3 separate regions of the Homo sapiens genome follow, and all the other regions are linked to region 1. Evidence: promoter capture Hi-C in 16 types of primary human blood cells and fetal thymus (Javierre and others, 2016). All regions are on one chromosome and are shown on one strand. Each heading gives the region's core, a stretch centred on a gene start or on the middle of the fragment in contact. The rest is flanking DNA. Distances are from core to core; before and after follow the strand shown. Region 1 holds the start of FICD (FIC domain protein adenylyltransferase). Region 2 has its middle 28 kb from the start of WSCD2. Region 3 overlaps WSCD2 (WSC domain containing 2).

The links. Contacts are between HindIII fragments. The CHiCAGO score rates a contact against its expected background, and 5 or more counts as called.
Region 2: a contact is called between a fragment that was not itself captured here and the fragment with the promoter of FICD in region 1, in 4 of 17 cell types (M2 macrophages, M0 macrophages, M1 macrophages and 1 more). The highest score is 8.3, in M2 macrophages.
Region 3: a fragment that was not itself captured here is called in contact with the fragment with the promoter of FICD in region 1 in 2 of 17 cell types (M2 macrophages and M0 macrophages); the score reaches 6.4 in M2 macrophages.

The regions. Positions count from the first base shown.
Region 1 is chr12:108,513,177-108,517,321 of GRCh38, forward strand. It overlaps FICD (FIC domain protein adenylyltransferase), which reads left to right and starts at 2,101. Exons shown (of 3, transcript NM_007076.3): 1 at 2,101-2,185; 2 at 3,739-4,097. The coding sequence starts at 3,797. RefSeq lists a silencer at 1-76 and enhancers at 1,573-1,632, 3,535-4,035, 3,724-3,823, 4,036-4,145. The HindIII fragment of the contact is 9,938 bases long and covers 1-4,145 here.
Region 2 is chr12:108,099,032-108,103,176 of GRCh38, forward strand. No RefSeq gene overlaps it. Among named protein-coding and RNA genes, the nearest start is that of WSCD2, 28 kb to the right of the region's middle. The HindIII fragment of the contact is 782 bases long and covers 1,436-2,217 here.
Region 3 is chr12:108,228,555-108,232,699 of GRCh38, forward strand. The region is part of intron 6 of WSCD2 (WSC domain containing 2); the gene reads left to right. All of the region lies in intron 2 of LOC124903077 (a long non-coding RNA gene), which reads right to left. Among named protein-coding and RNA genes, the nearest start is that of WSCD2, 100 kb to the left of the region's middle. The HindIII fragment of the contact is 1,091 bases long and covers 1,721-2,811 here.

The DNA.
Region 1 (4,145 bases), core at 851-3,350:
GAGCCAAGATCACACCACTGCACTCCAGCCTGGGTGACAGAGCAAGACTCTGTCTCAAAAACAAACAAACAAACAAAAAAACAATTAGCCTGTGTGTGCCTGTAGTCCCAGCTACTAGGGAAGCTGAGATGGGAGGATCACTTAAACCCAGGACATGGAGGTTGCAGTGAGCCAAGATCATGCCACTGCACTCCAGCCTGGGCAACAGAGTGAGATCCTATTTCAAAAAAGATAGATAGGTGATAGATAGATAGATAGATAGATAGATAGATAGATAGATAGATAGTTTGCTCTGTGCCAGATGTATAGAATCTCATTTCACCCTCACATAAAACCTTGTGAAGTGGTAATATCATCACACTGTGCACAGTTTACAGAAAAGCCTAGACAGATGATCAACAAGATCAAGTCACTTGCTGAATGTGATTCAGTTTGCAAGGGGCAGAACTGGGATTTGAACCCAGGTCTGTGTGACTCCCAACAGTGACACCCCACAACCACCACCTAGCCCTGCCTCCAAGAGCAATACACGTCACAGAGGAGGTCAGATCTTGAAGCATCAAGCCTTCTGCAAATCCTGAACTGGATGCCAAAAGCAAGGTAGGCTGTTTGTCCCCATTTTACAAGTGGGGAAAGTGAGGCTAGGAGTAACGTGCCCAAGGTGACACGGAGAGTAAATGGCAAAGTCTGAATTTGAGCTCAGGTCTCTTTGACTCCCCAGAATCTGAACTGCTAACTTCTAAATGCTTAGCGTTTCTGGGGCACCTCCCTAGATGTTTAATTTCAGTATTTGTGGATTAAGATGGAGGTTTCCATTCTCTGCTTCAAGGAAAAAATTTCTCTCTGGGAAGCCAAAAGAACTAGCCAGGTCCTTCTGGAGAGGATACAAATTAAAAAGTCAGGGAGAACCGAGGGGGTGGCTTGCGCCTGTAATCTTAGCGCTTTGGGAAGCCGAGATGGAGGGAGAGCTTAAGGTCAAGAGTTCGAGACCAGCCCGGGCGACATAGTGAGACCCGGTCTCTAAAGAAAATAAAAAATCAGAAATAGGTCGGGCGCGATGGCTCACGCCTGTAATCCCAGCACTTTGGGAGGCCGAGGCAGGCGAATCTTCTGAGGTCAGGAGTTCGAGACCAGCCTGGCCAACGTGGTGAAACCCCATCTCTACTAAAAATACACAAATTAGGCGGGCGTGGTGATGCGCGCCTGTAATCCCAGCTACTCGGGAGGCTGAGGCAGGAGAATCGCTTCAACCTGGGAGGCGGAGGTTGCAGTGGGCCAAGATCGTGCCACTTCCCTCCAGCCTGGGCAACAGAGTGCGATTCCGTCTCAAAAAAAAAGAAAGAAAGCAAGACAGAGAGAGAGAAAAAAAAAGAAAGAAAGAAAGAAAAGAAAAGAAAAGAAAATTCGCCGGGCATGGTGGCATGCACCTGTAGTCCCAGCTACTCGGGAGGCTGAGATGGGAGGATTGCTTGAGCCCAGGAGGTGGAGGCTGCAGTGAGCTGCAATTGCTCCACCGCACTCCAGCCTGGGCGACACAACGAGACCCTGTATTTTATAAGAAAAAAAAAAGTTGTTTAAGTCAGGGAGGAAAAGACACAGAGAGGAAAAGAGTAAAGAAGAAGAAGGCGGCAAACTCAGCAGCATGGGGTGGAGGCTAAGAACAGGGGCTGCGCAGTCAAGCAGGCTAACCGGGTGAAGGGGTGAAAAGCATCAGCATCTTCATTTCACAACCGGGAAAAATGAGGCACACGACAGCGGCTCCGGGACGAAGAGACCCGAGGAAAAGACCGCCGTGGAACTTCCAGTTTCCGGGCCCGCCACCTAGTGTGCCCCAAATCCGCACGCCCATCGGGTTTCCAGCACCTGCTCCTCCTGCCTGTGGCCTAGGCCCCGCCCCTCCCGCTGCTTATTGGCTGCTACGTGAACGAGACAAACGCAAGCAACAACCAATGGGAGTGGCCCACGGCGCGTCTTTCCCGGGGAAGCCGACGCGGACGCGGGAACCCGGAAATGCGAGGGAAGGACAAGTGGGGAAAGCCAATCCGCCGCGACGAGGGCTGCGGGCGGTTCAATGGCAAGTCGCCGGGGGCGGGGCCAGAGGCCGGCGGAGAAGGAGGACCCGGGAGCCGGCGGCCCGGAGCTGGGAGCGCGGGGAAGGCGGTTGGGGTTCTGACAGCTGCGCGCGGTGAGAAGGGGAAAAGCCCTAGGGGCTCGAGAGGATGAAGCCGGGAAGGGTGCGACGGGGCCGCGAGCCCTGGGCGGGGTTCGGGAAGGGAGGCTCTGCAGTCTTGGAGGGGACTCAGACCGGTCCCCTCCCCTCTCCGGGCCTCAGTTCTCCCTTTCTAGGGAAGTGTGGGGGAGAGATTCGCGCCTCCCAGAACGCACTCCTTCCCTGCACACACCCCTGGCACCGGCGAACTGCCCCCTTTCCTGTACCGCCCCGCCCAGGAGCCTGTCCCCTCGGGAAGCCCGCCCAGACCCCTGGACCCGCGCAGCACTCCAGGCGCACCCCTATTAAAGCGCACCCCAAGCCATTTCACATGTTCTGTGGCAATGGGCCAGGATCCCCATGAGACTCAGAACCCCGTGATCCATCAGTCATTCCCGGGTCAGGACCAGCCCAGAGCAGGTGCACAGGCCCTGCTTAGTAATAAGGTAGAAATCGAGACCTGGGGACCGGGTTCAGAGGCCCTGGGGTTTCCTTCCGGATGCCTCTGTTTACCTCCTGTGGGCCTTCTGGAATTTAACTTATGCTCTCTGTGTCTTGGTTTCCCTTGTCTGTAAAATGGAGCTAGCGGTAGCTCTTCCTTCATAGGGTGGCATGAGGGTGAAACGAGGCAATGCGTGGCCAGTACACTGCTCAGCACCTAGGACACCATAGTTGCTTAATAAGTGCTTATTGTTAGCATAGTGTTTGCATGCCTGGCCCCACCTCCACTCCCACTGCCAGCCCCAAGCACATACAAGCCATGTTGTCACTGAGGCCAAGCACTGTGGCCCACAGCCTGAGTTCCTTTCGAGATGCTCGAACTGCTCATCTTCTTGATGGGGTCCCTTCTGGACAGGCCAGAAATGGAAGGCCAGAGAGGGGAAGGGCACTGTGGGAGCTGTGGCTGAATATCAGGGTGAGGGCAATAAATGAGGCCACCCAACAATTGTGCTTATCAAAGATTGGGCGTCAGAACTGCTGTGGCTGATCTGCCTGGGTGTCTGTCAGTCATTTATGTCCCAAATGTTTGACATATGTCCACAAATCCAGTGTTTGTGGTCAGAAGCCACAGGGATATATGGGAAGGGGGGACACTTTAGAGCCGTGGGGTTCCTGAGTTCAAGTCCTAAGGCTGTCACTTGCTCCCGGCGAGACTTTCGGCAAGGGACTTCACCTCTCTGAACCTCAGTTCCCTCACCTGGAGAAGGGTGAAAACATCAGCTCAAGTCGTTGAAGATTGCAGGAGGTGACCCATGTGAGGCATTTGGTGCTTAGCACACGGCCTGGATTATGGCAAGTGCTCATTAATTGTTGGACCACAGCAGTGTTTTCACATTCATACTGCCCAGGAGGTGGCACCAGTCCTTCTAGGCTGGCCCCTCCTCTAGTGAGATCCAGTCCTTGACTTGCCCCCACCCCATCTCTCTAGTGAGCTAAAAGAGCAGAAGTCTCCAAACCCATCTTCCCAGCTGAAGTCACACTATGTCCTGAACGTGTCTGTTTCTCCTGCGACTCTTGGCTCCTTGCAGATCCTGCTCTCTCTCAGCCGCCTGTGGACATGCGCAAAGGGCCCTCTCCTGAGTCCAGATGATGCTCATACCAATGGCTTCAGTGATGGCGGTGACTGAACCGAAATGGGTCTCGGTCTGGAGCCGCTTCCTCTGGGTGACGCTGCTGAGCATGGTGCTGGGGTCCCTGCTGGCCCTGCTGCTGCCGCTGGGGGCTGTGGAGGAGCAGTGCTTGGCTGTGCTCAAAGGCCTCTACCTGCTCAGGAGCAAACCGGACAGGGCGCAGCATGCCGCCACCAAGTGCACCAGCCCGTCCACGGAGCTCAGCATCACCTCCAGGGGCGCGACGCTGCTGGTGGCCAAGACCAAGGCCTCTCCAGGTAAGACAGACTGGCCGTCTTCCTCAATGCTTGTTAACTGGATAGACA
Region 2 (4,145 bases), core at 577-3,076, 410 kb before region 1:
TTTCTGTACGATGTTATTTGGAGAGAGATTCTGCTGCTATATATATGCAACTTGAAAACCCTCTAGATAGATCTCTACATTCCTTCTAGTTATTTAGTAGTTAATAGCATAAGCTTTGGTGTTCATTGCATCCAGATTTGAATGATGACTCTGCCGTTTATTATGTGTTAACTTGGGCAAGCCGATAACTTCCTGGCTCACAGTCTCCACATCTACCAGCCATTCAGGAGAACGTCCTTTCCCCTCATCTCCACCAGCAGGAGGTGTTAGAACTCTTTTTAATTTTTGTCAGTTCAATGGGTATAGAATAATATTTCATTGTTACTTTAGTTTGCACTTGTCTAACTTCTAGAGAATTGGAGCATCTTTTCCTCTGATTCTTGGCCATTTTGATTTCTTCCATAAATTCCTATTCTTTGCCCATTTTCTGTGGGGCCATTTGTCATTTTTCTGGTCTGTTTGTGAGAACTCTTTGACATCATATGGACATTATACTAATATAGCATGGATTTTATCTTTCACCTGCATTACAGTTTTTTTAAGAACCATCTTTTGTTCCTTTTAAAATGTTGCTATAATGGTATTACTGCACTGTCACGTGAGGATTAGATAGCCTAATGTATATAAGCACATAGTAGAAATCCTGGTAATTTCAATACAGCATTTCTATTATTTACAGGCTTTGAGTGTGGGTACATGGTTCTGGAGTTACCTGAATGTGTGTTGTTGATGGAGTTAGTTAAAATGACAGTGCCAGGCAAGGAGGTACTTGTGATCTATAATGTAAACACCTAGGAGAAGGGGAAAAAAGAATGTCACTGTCTTGTGTCTGCTCATTTGGGAGAGTGAGCAGAAGCGCTTGTCAGCAGAGTCGAGTCTAATGTGCATGTGACTGATGAACTGTGGAATTGACAGGGCTCCATTATTTACTCTGTGATAGGAAAAAGTATACTCATGCTTGAGAGCTCATGAGCAATGGAGATACCAAATAAATCAGAATAATGACTGAGGGGTGACACCCATGAGTCAGCTCCACCAGCAAGTCCTGCCCAGAACATCCCTTTTGCCAGAATCAGACTCCACCAAACATAGGTCAGCATTAAGGGCTCCTCTTCTGTGCAGTCAGCGTGAACAGGTCCAAACTTTTATCAATTATTTACTGCTATGAAATGCTGCATAACAAACAACCTCAGTGACATTAAACAATAAACACTTATTGATCATTGATCATTTGTGACTACTGGGTGGTCAGCAAAGCAGCTATGCTGATCTTGACTGGGTGCACTCACATGTCTGGGGGCAGTCGGCTATCAGCCTGTCCTTCCATGCATTATGTTGTCAGTGGCTTATGCATCAGAATTACCCATGAAGAATATTAAAATACAGATTCCAGGGCCTCATTCCTAAAGAGTCCATTTTAAAAGGTCTGAGGGTAAGCTTAGGAAACTGTGTTTTAACTAATTGCAGATCCATGCTATTTCTATTTTACACTGGGACTTCTCGGTGCTAATTTTGGGTGACAGTGGTGGATAAAGAAACATTGTCAACAGTGATGACTGGAGTCTCCTCCACATGTATCTCATCCTCCAACAGGCAGCCTGGTGTGGTCTCATGGGAGAGGTATAGGCACCCACTTTTTAAGCCTCATCTTGGGTCATGCTTGCTAAAATCTCATTGGCCAAAGCAAGTCACTTGGTGGAGCCAACTTGAGAGAGGAGGAGCATTACAGTCACATGGGCAAGGACATAGGCACAGGGACAGATGAAGAATTGGGGCCACCACTGCAATCTACCACAATGGTTCAGCATGGAGGTTAAGATTACAGGATATAGAAACAGCTGGACCTGGACTTTGGTGCCTCTTCCTGCTGGGATTTTCATACTTCCTCCCATTTCTCCCCTAGGTGCCTACACCAAAGCCTTTTCCCGTAAGGCTTTGCTCTCGGCTAGCTGCCACAGTCAGAGATTTTCTTCAGTGTTGCCTCCCAACTGCCAATGCCCTCTCTCTCTTTCAAGGATATTTGCATTAAAAGAGTCTTACTGCTTTTTCTGATTACAAGGGAATATGTGCTCTTTGCACAATGCTCAAGCCATACAGATAATCATGACCTAGCTCCATCACCCCTCTCTGAGTGGGAATTTTCCACTGTCAGTATGTTCTTTTTCATACAGACTTTTTCTTTGCCTATTTGAGATCTCTTTGTCAAATATGGGGTCAAGCTTTAGACAAGTTGCTTTATTCACTTAATATCAACAACAACAGCAACACTGTGTGGGTGTCTTTCCATGCAGGATGTTGTCACTGGCTTTTACATCAGAATTACCTATGGAGGAGAACATTAAAATACAGACTCCAGGGCCTCATTCCTAAAGAGTCTGTTTTAAAAGGTCTGAGGGGAAGCTCAGGAAACTGTGTTTTAACTAATTGGAGCTCCACACTATTTGTATTTTAACAGGGTCTCCTTGCCTGGTGCTAATTTTTGGTGACAGTGATGGAAAAAGAAATACCCAGTGAAGGGAGTGATTAGCGCAGGGGCTCCAAGCACTGTGATAGCCGCTAGGGGAGACACTTGTGATTGAATCACATCACCTCAGGGGGCCAGTTTTTTTTTGTTTGTTTTTTGTTTCTTTTTTTTATTTTTCAGAGAAAGGAGACTGTATTGACTTGCACCTTCAGTTTCTTTGGAACCTGTCCAGGTATGGCCCCGTAAGTAACCAAATAACCACTAACCTAGGTTCAGGAATTTCCCAGCTGTGTGTTCTTAGGCAAGGGACTTCACCTCTCTGGGCCTCAGCCAGTTCATCATAACATGGAAATCATAATATCCACCTGGCTCAGCAGTTGAGAAAAGCAATGAGTTCACACCTAGAAAGAGCCCACCCAGCTGGCCTCATAATAGGTCTTCCATAAACAGTAGCTTCCCTTCCCCCATGCGATGTGGTGAGCAGGGACTTACTGGGCAGTCTGGGAAAAGCCAGAGAGCCCCCGAGGACAGCAGCAGCCATGCCATGTGCCTTGATGAGTTAATTATGGAAAATTAGGGCAAGTCAGGTTTCTGCCTTCAGGAATCTCCTATTAAGGTCTGGATGATAGTGCAGGATTTTAATAACTCTCCAGGGGCTGGTGACAAGGAAGGTTCTTCCTGCTGGGCTGATAAGTAGGGGAACCAATCAAAATGTACAAATACAGCCAAGAAAGAGGCTCGGGGAGGCCTTTGGAGTGGACCACAGCCTTTTCTGGATGTTTGCTGGCTGGGGACTCTGATCAGACAAATTCTGAGTGGGGCATTCCAGGTCTCCTGACATCAGAATTATGTGTGGTAGATGCAGAAATGGTGGCAATTTGCTGCCCTTCTCTGTATTTACTCTTTTTCCAATGTGCTTTTGCAGCCCTCTCATTGAAAAGTGGAGTCTGGTTCCTGAAAAATCCTTGAATCTAAGCTGGCCTTATCACTTGTATTGGCCTATAGAGTATAGTGGAAGTGACTCAGAGAGTTCCTAGGGGTTCTCAGGAGTCAAGAGGACTAGAACACTTCTACTTTCTCTTTTGAAATCTTGCCCAGCTACTATGGGGACAACCCCAGGATATCTGCTAGCAGATAAGAGCTTGTGGAGGGGAGCTCAGTCATTTCAGACAAGGTCATTCTATATCAGCCTATGGCCAGTTGACCCTCAAATACTGAAAACCCCACCAAGACAACGAAGCCACCTACCTGACCTCCAGCTGTACTCAGACACTTAAGTGAGTTTAGCTGAGACCAGAAAAATCACCAGCTCACCAACAGACAATGAGCAAAATAATTAAAGCAATGAGTTTGGGGATGGTTTATTAGGCAGCAATGGCTAACCAATACAGTGTATGTGTGACGATAATGGTATAAAAATAATACAACTCTAGTAACAATAAAGGCTGCATTTACCCCATTCCAGAGACTTTGCTAAGGATTTTATGCCCATTAGCTTATTTAATTCTCATCAAGCCCTGCAAAGTAGGTGTTATCTTCATTTTATAGAGGGGGAAATGGAAACTCAGGAAGTTTTATGTGCATTGTCTAATTTCAGTTGCTTTCAAGTGGGGGAAGGCAGGACTGGAACTCAGGTCTGCACTGCCTCCTAAGGGGCCTCACCTGATCTGTATAGAAGCCA
Region 3 (4,145 bases), core at 1,016-3,515, 280 kb before region 1:
GTCACCAAGCTGCCATATGTGGTAGAGCAGGTTGAGCATTGCACTGGCACAGCCAACAGAAAAAGTGGTGCCTAAAAGCCAGCCACATGTTGTGTGCCCTGGATGGCAGAACATCTGTCCAGAGGAAGGAGTGGGCACCTTTTTCTGATTTGCACAAAAGTGCTGTATGAGCTAGTGGCAGCCCCACCAATAGCCTGTCCCTGTTTGACTGATGGGGTACCAGTGGTGATCAACTGTGGCTGTTTCTATGGTAGCTAAAGTCCTTCTGAGAGCCTAGTGAGCATGTGGCTCTTGGACCTATTTACAGTCCGATGGGGAAGGATGGGTTTTTGTTAGCTTTCGGGGAAGTGCTGGTTAGTCTGTGCAGAGCTGTGCTGCCTTAGCCTGCAGGGGAAAGTCATACACAGATTAATTACCCTGTGATCATGAATGGCTTTGAGGTGGCCAGAACAGACACTGGAGCCTTTTCAACGCAGATAACAATTCCCTAATTGATGAATTTGCTCATTCCCAGTGCCCTACCCCCAGGCCATTACTAGGGCTTCCATTTTGCCACGTCACTCTTGCAGTTTCTACACACTGGGGAGGTTTGACAGTTATGTGGCTCATCAGCCTGCCAAGAGCCTGGCCCACCAGGACTGACATTTATTGAGCACCTACTGTGTGCTAAGCCCTGATGCCCCTTATGGGATAATTATTGAACACTTGCTCTGTGCCAGGCTCTGTCAAATCTTTTACCTGCCTTAAATCATCTAATCATCCAAACAGTCCAGTTGCATAAGCACTGTTATTACCATTTTACAAATGAGGTAACTTGGCACAGGGAGGTTGAGTAACTTGGCCAAAGTCAAACAGCTCTGACATGGCAGTGTAGGGATGCAAACCCAGGCAATCTAGGTCCCAAGACTGCACTGTCAACCCTAGCTTCTCAAAATACATTGTGAAAAATTCACACTCATTATCCCACATAATTGTGTAAGGTTTATTAGCCCTGTTTTATAGGTGAGGAAACTGAGGCTTAGTGAGGGGAAAGCCTTGTTCCATGTCACACAGGTAGGCCATGACAGTTCTGGATGGAAACCCAGGTCGGTCTGATTCCAAAACTGCATATAATACTGCCTGCAACAGTTGCTTAATGTATGGGGCTTAGGAACCAAATCAACTTTCTTTATAGCATTGAAAACCACAACTTTTACCTTCGGGTTGGCCTTGGCCTCCCAGGAAATATTTGAATAGAGAATTCTGTTTTGGGGGGACATTAAGGAGCCTGGTCTGCCCCACCCGACCTATCAACCCAACATTTTGCTCTGGAAAAAAAAAAAAAAAAAGTCAAACCTCCAGAAAAGTCGGAAGAATTATGCAGTGAACACATATATACTCATTCCATAGAATTTTGTGACATACATTAACTTTTGCTGTATTTACTTTATTGTCCATCTCTCCTTTTCTCCATCCCTCAATCCTTCCTAATTTTTGGTGCATTTCCAAGCAAGTTGCAAGCATCATTATACTTCAGGATGTTGTCATTGGTTATATAATTCAATATTAGCTTTCTGAAGTAACACTTCCATAGAGTGGAATGCACATATTTTAAGTGTACTAGTTAATATCAACTGGCTAATCCACTCCCCTATCAAAATATAAAACATAACCATATTCTATAAAGTCCCTGTGTCTGGGCTCCTTTTTGCAGTGTATTCCAATGAAAACCATTCCCTGAAGCTTACTTGGCTTCGACACAGATGTCCCCTGGTTTATTTTATCCTAAATCTGATCATCTCAGAACAAAAATTAAACAGGCAGGAGAAGAAAGCTGAACCTCCAGCTAGCAGGAACAATACCAGGAACCACAATCGATTCTGTGGGCAATTCCGGCATGTTTGTCTCAATCTAACACTGCATTCATTCAAGAATTTCATTCTCCTAAACAACCTCAGGCTGTCATCGCTGCTTAATAGTCCCATTTTATAAGTGAGCAAACTGAGGCTCCGACAGATCATTTTTTTCCTATGTCACCCAAAAAGTAAGTGGAAGAATTGGAATTTAAATCTAGGACTTCACACCTCTCCTTCAAAGGGCTTTTGTGTGAAATTAATGAGGCTCACAGTAAGACTTCAATAAATAGCAGCTAATGCAGAACAGGGAAGACCCTGGTAAAATCTTGGGAAGGAATTACCTAGAGGAGGGCAGCGCTCTGCCCTCATGCCCGAGTAATCACGTGAGGTGAGCTTGTCTCTTGAATTGAGCATGGGGCAGTCACTGAGGACCTTGCCCATAACCGGTCCAGGGCAGTGACCAGGGAAGAGGCCAAGTGCAAGAGCCAAGGAGTAGATAGAAGGGAGGAAACATGAAGGAATGTGGACAACTCTGCTGGCAATGTGGCGGTGATGGGGTGAAGGGGAGCTGGTGGTCGCTGGAAGGGGCTCTTTCTAAACGAGGGAGCTATTTGTTCCTGTTTGAGTGCTAATGTGATTGAGCCAGCTGAGAGAGAAAAAATATTGGGGTTTGGAAGGAGCAAAGAGCTTGGAGAAGGAGGGAATGGAGAACACATACATGAGCAGGGGATGGGTGGCTTCCCCAGAAGAGGGAGAGATGGAGGTGAGGGGCCATGGGAGGTGAGGGAGGTTTGCCTGCCTTCCCTTGGATGATAAATAAGGGTGGAGCTCATCTGCCCCAGGCTGAAGAAGGCAGCACTGAGACCTGGGGCCTCCAGGCCTGGATCTGGGATTCTCTCATCTTCCTTTCTGCTCCAGCGCCCCCTGCTCTGAGCCTTCCCTCAGCTGCCTTTGCAACTGAGGGAACCAAAAGAAAAGCTTGTGCTTTCTTAGCTCCCTCTGGGGTTGCAGTGGGAGGTGCTGGGGCTTGCATTTTCTGTTAACTCTGATGGTAATGGCATTCTGCAGGCTCTGAAAAGCCAGAGAATCAAAAATATCCAAATGGTACTCACCACATCCCAACCCATTTTACAGATGAGGAAACTGAGGGCTAGAGAAAAATAATATCTATGCCTTTTGAGCACTTTAGAGTATTAGCATATTACATGCTTTGTTTCATTCAATCCTTACAAGAGCCCTACAAAATAGATATTATTGTTATCCACCCAGTCACCATTCTACCCATTCATGCATCCGTCCAAGAAGCAGTTATTAAGTACCTGCTGTATACCAGATATTGTGGAAACTTTTGGTGAATCAGCAAAACACAATATGGGCAGGGTTTCTGACCACACGACTAATTGCATGCATAATTATCTGAATTGCAATTGTGATCAACAATATGAAGGAGATGGATATAGTAATGCACTAATGATAGCCCAGGGAGTCAGGAAAAGAGGAGAGACAGGAAGGGAGGAAGGAAAGAGGGAAGGAAGAAGGAAGGAAGGAAGGACAGACGGATAGACAGTGGGACCCATTCAACTGAGAGCTGAAGAACAAAAAGCAAAGGCAGGTAGGAGGCAATGGAGAGGGAACAGCATGCATGAAGGCACTATGTCAGGACACAGCAAAGCACAGGAGAGGAAGTACAGAGAGACCAGGTGGCTGGCATGTGGTGGAGTGGATTAGAATGAGCCTGTGAGTTTGCAAAGGCCAACCATGTGGGCTTGGAGGCCAAGATAAGAACCCTGGACTGCATCCTATACTCAAAAGGCATAGATATTATTTTTCTCTAGCCCTCAGTTTTCTCATCTGTAAAATGGGTTGGGAGGTGGTGAGTACCATTTGGATATTCCTGATTCTCTGGCTTTTCAGAGCCCGCAAAATACAAGAATAACAAAAAATACACGACGGATGCCATTGACGGTTTCGATCTGGAGGAAAGGGTAGGGGTGAATGGGAAAGACTTGCTCTGCTGGGGGGAAACTGGGGCTGGAGAGAAGATTCACCCTCCTAGCTGACTTCTATTGGATCCCTACTATGGGCTAAGCACTGTGCTTATCCCTTTCCATCATTATCCCATTTAACACTCACCTCAACTCTATGAGGGAGGAACCATCTCCCTCATTTTACAGATGGGAAAGCTGAGGCCCAAGGAAGCTTTCCCATGACCCACGCAAGTGTCCTGTGCCCTTGATCACCTGGCTGAGAAGTGGCAGGGGTGTGACTCATACCCTGGCCCTTTCAGACAGGCTCCATCTGCCCCTGGTG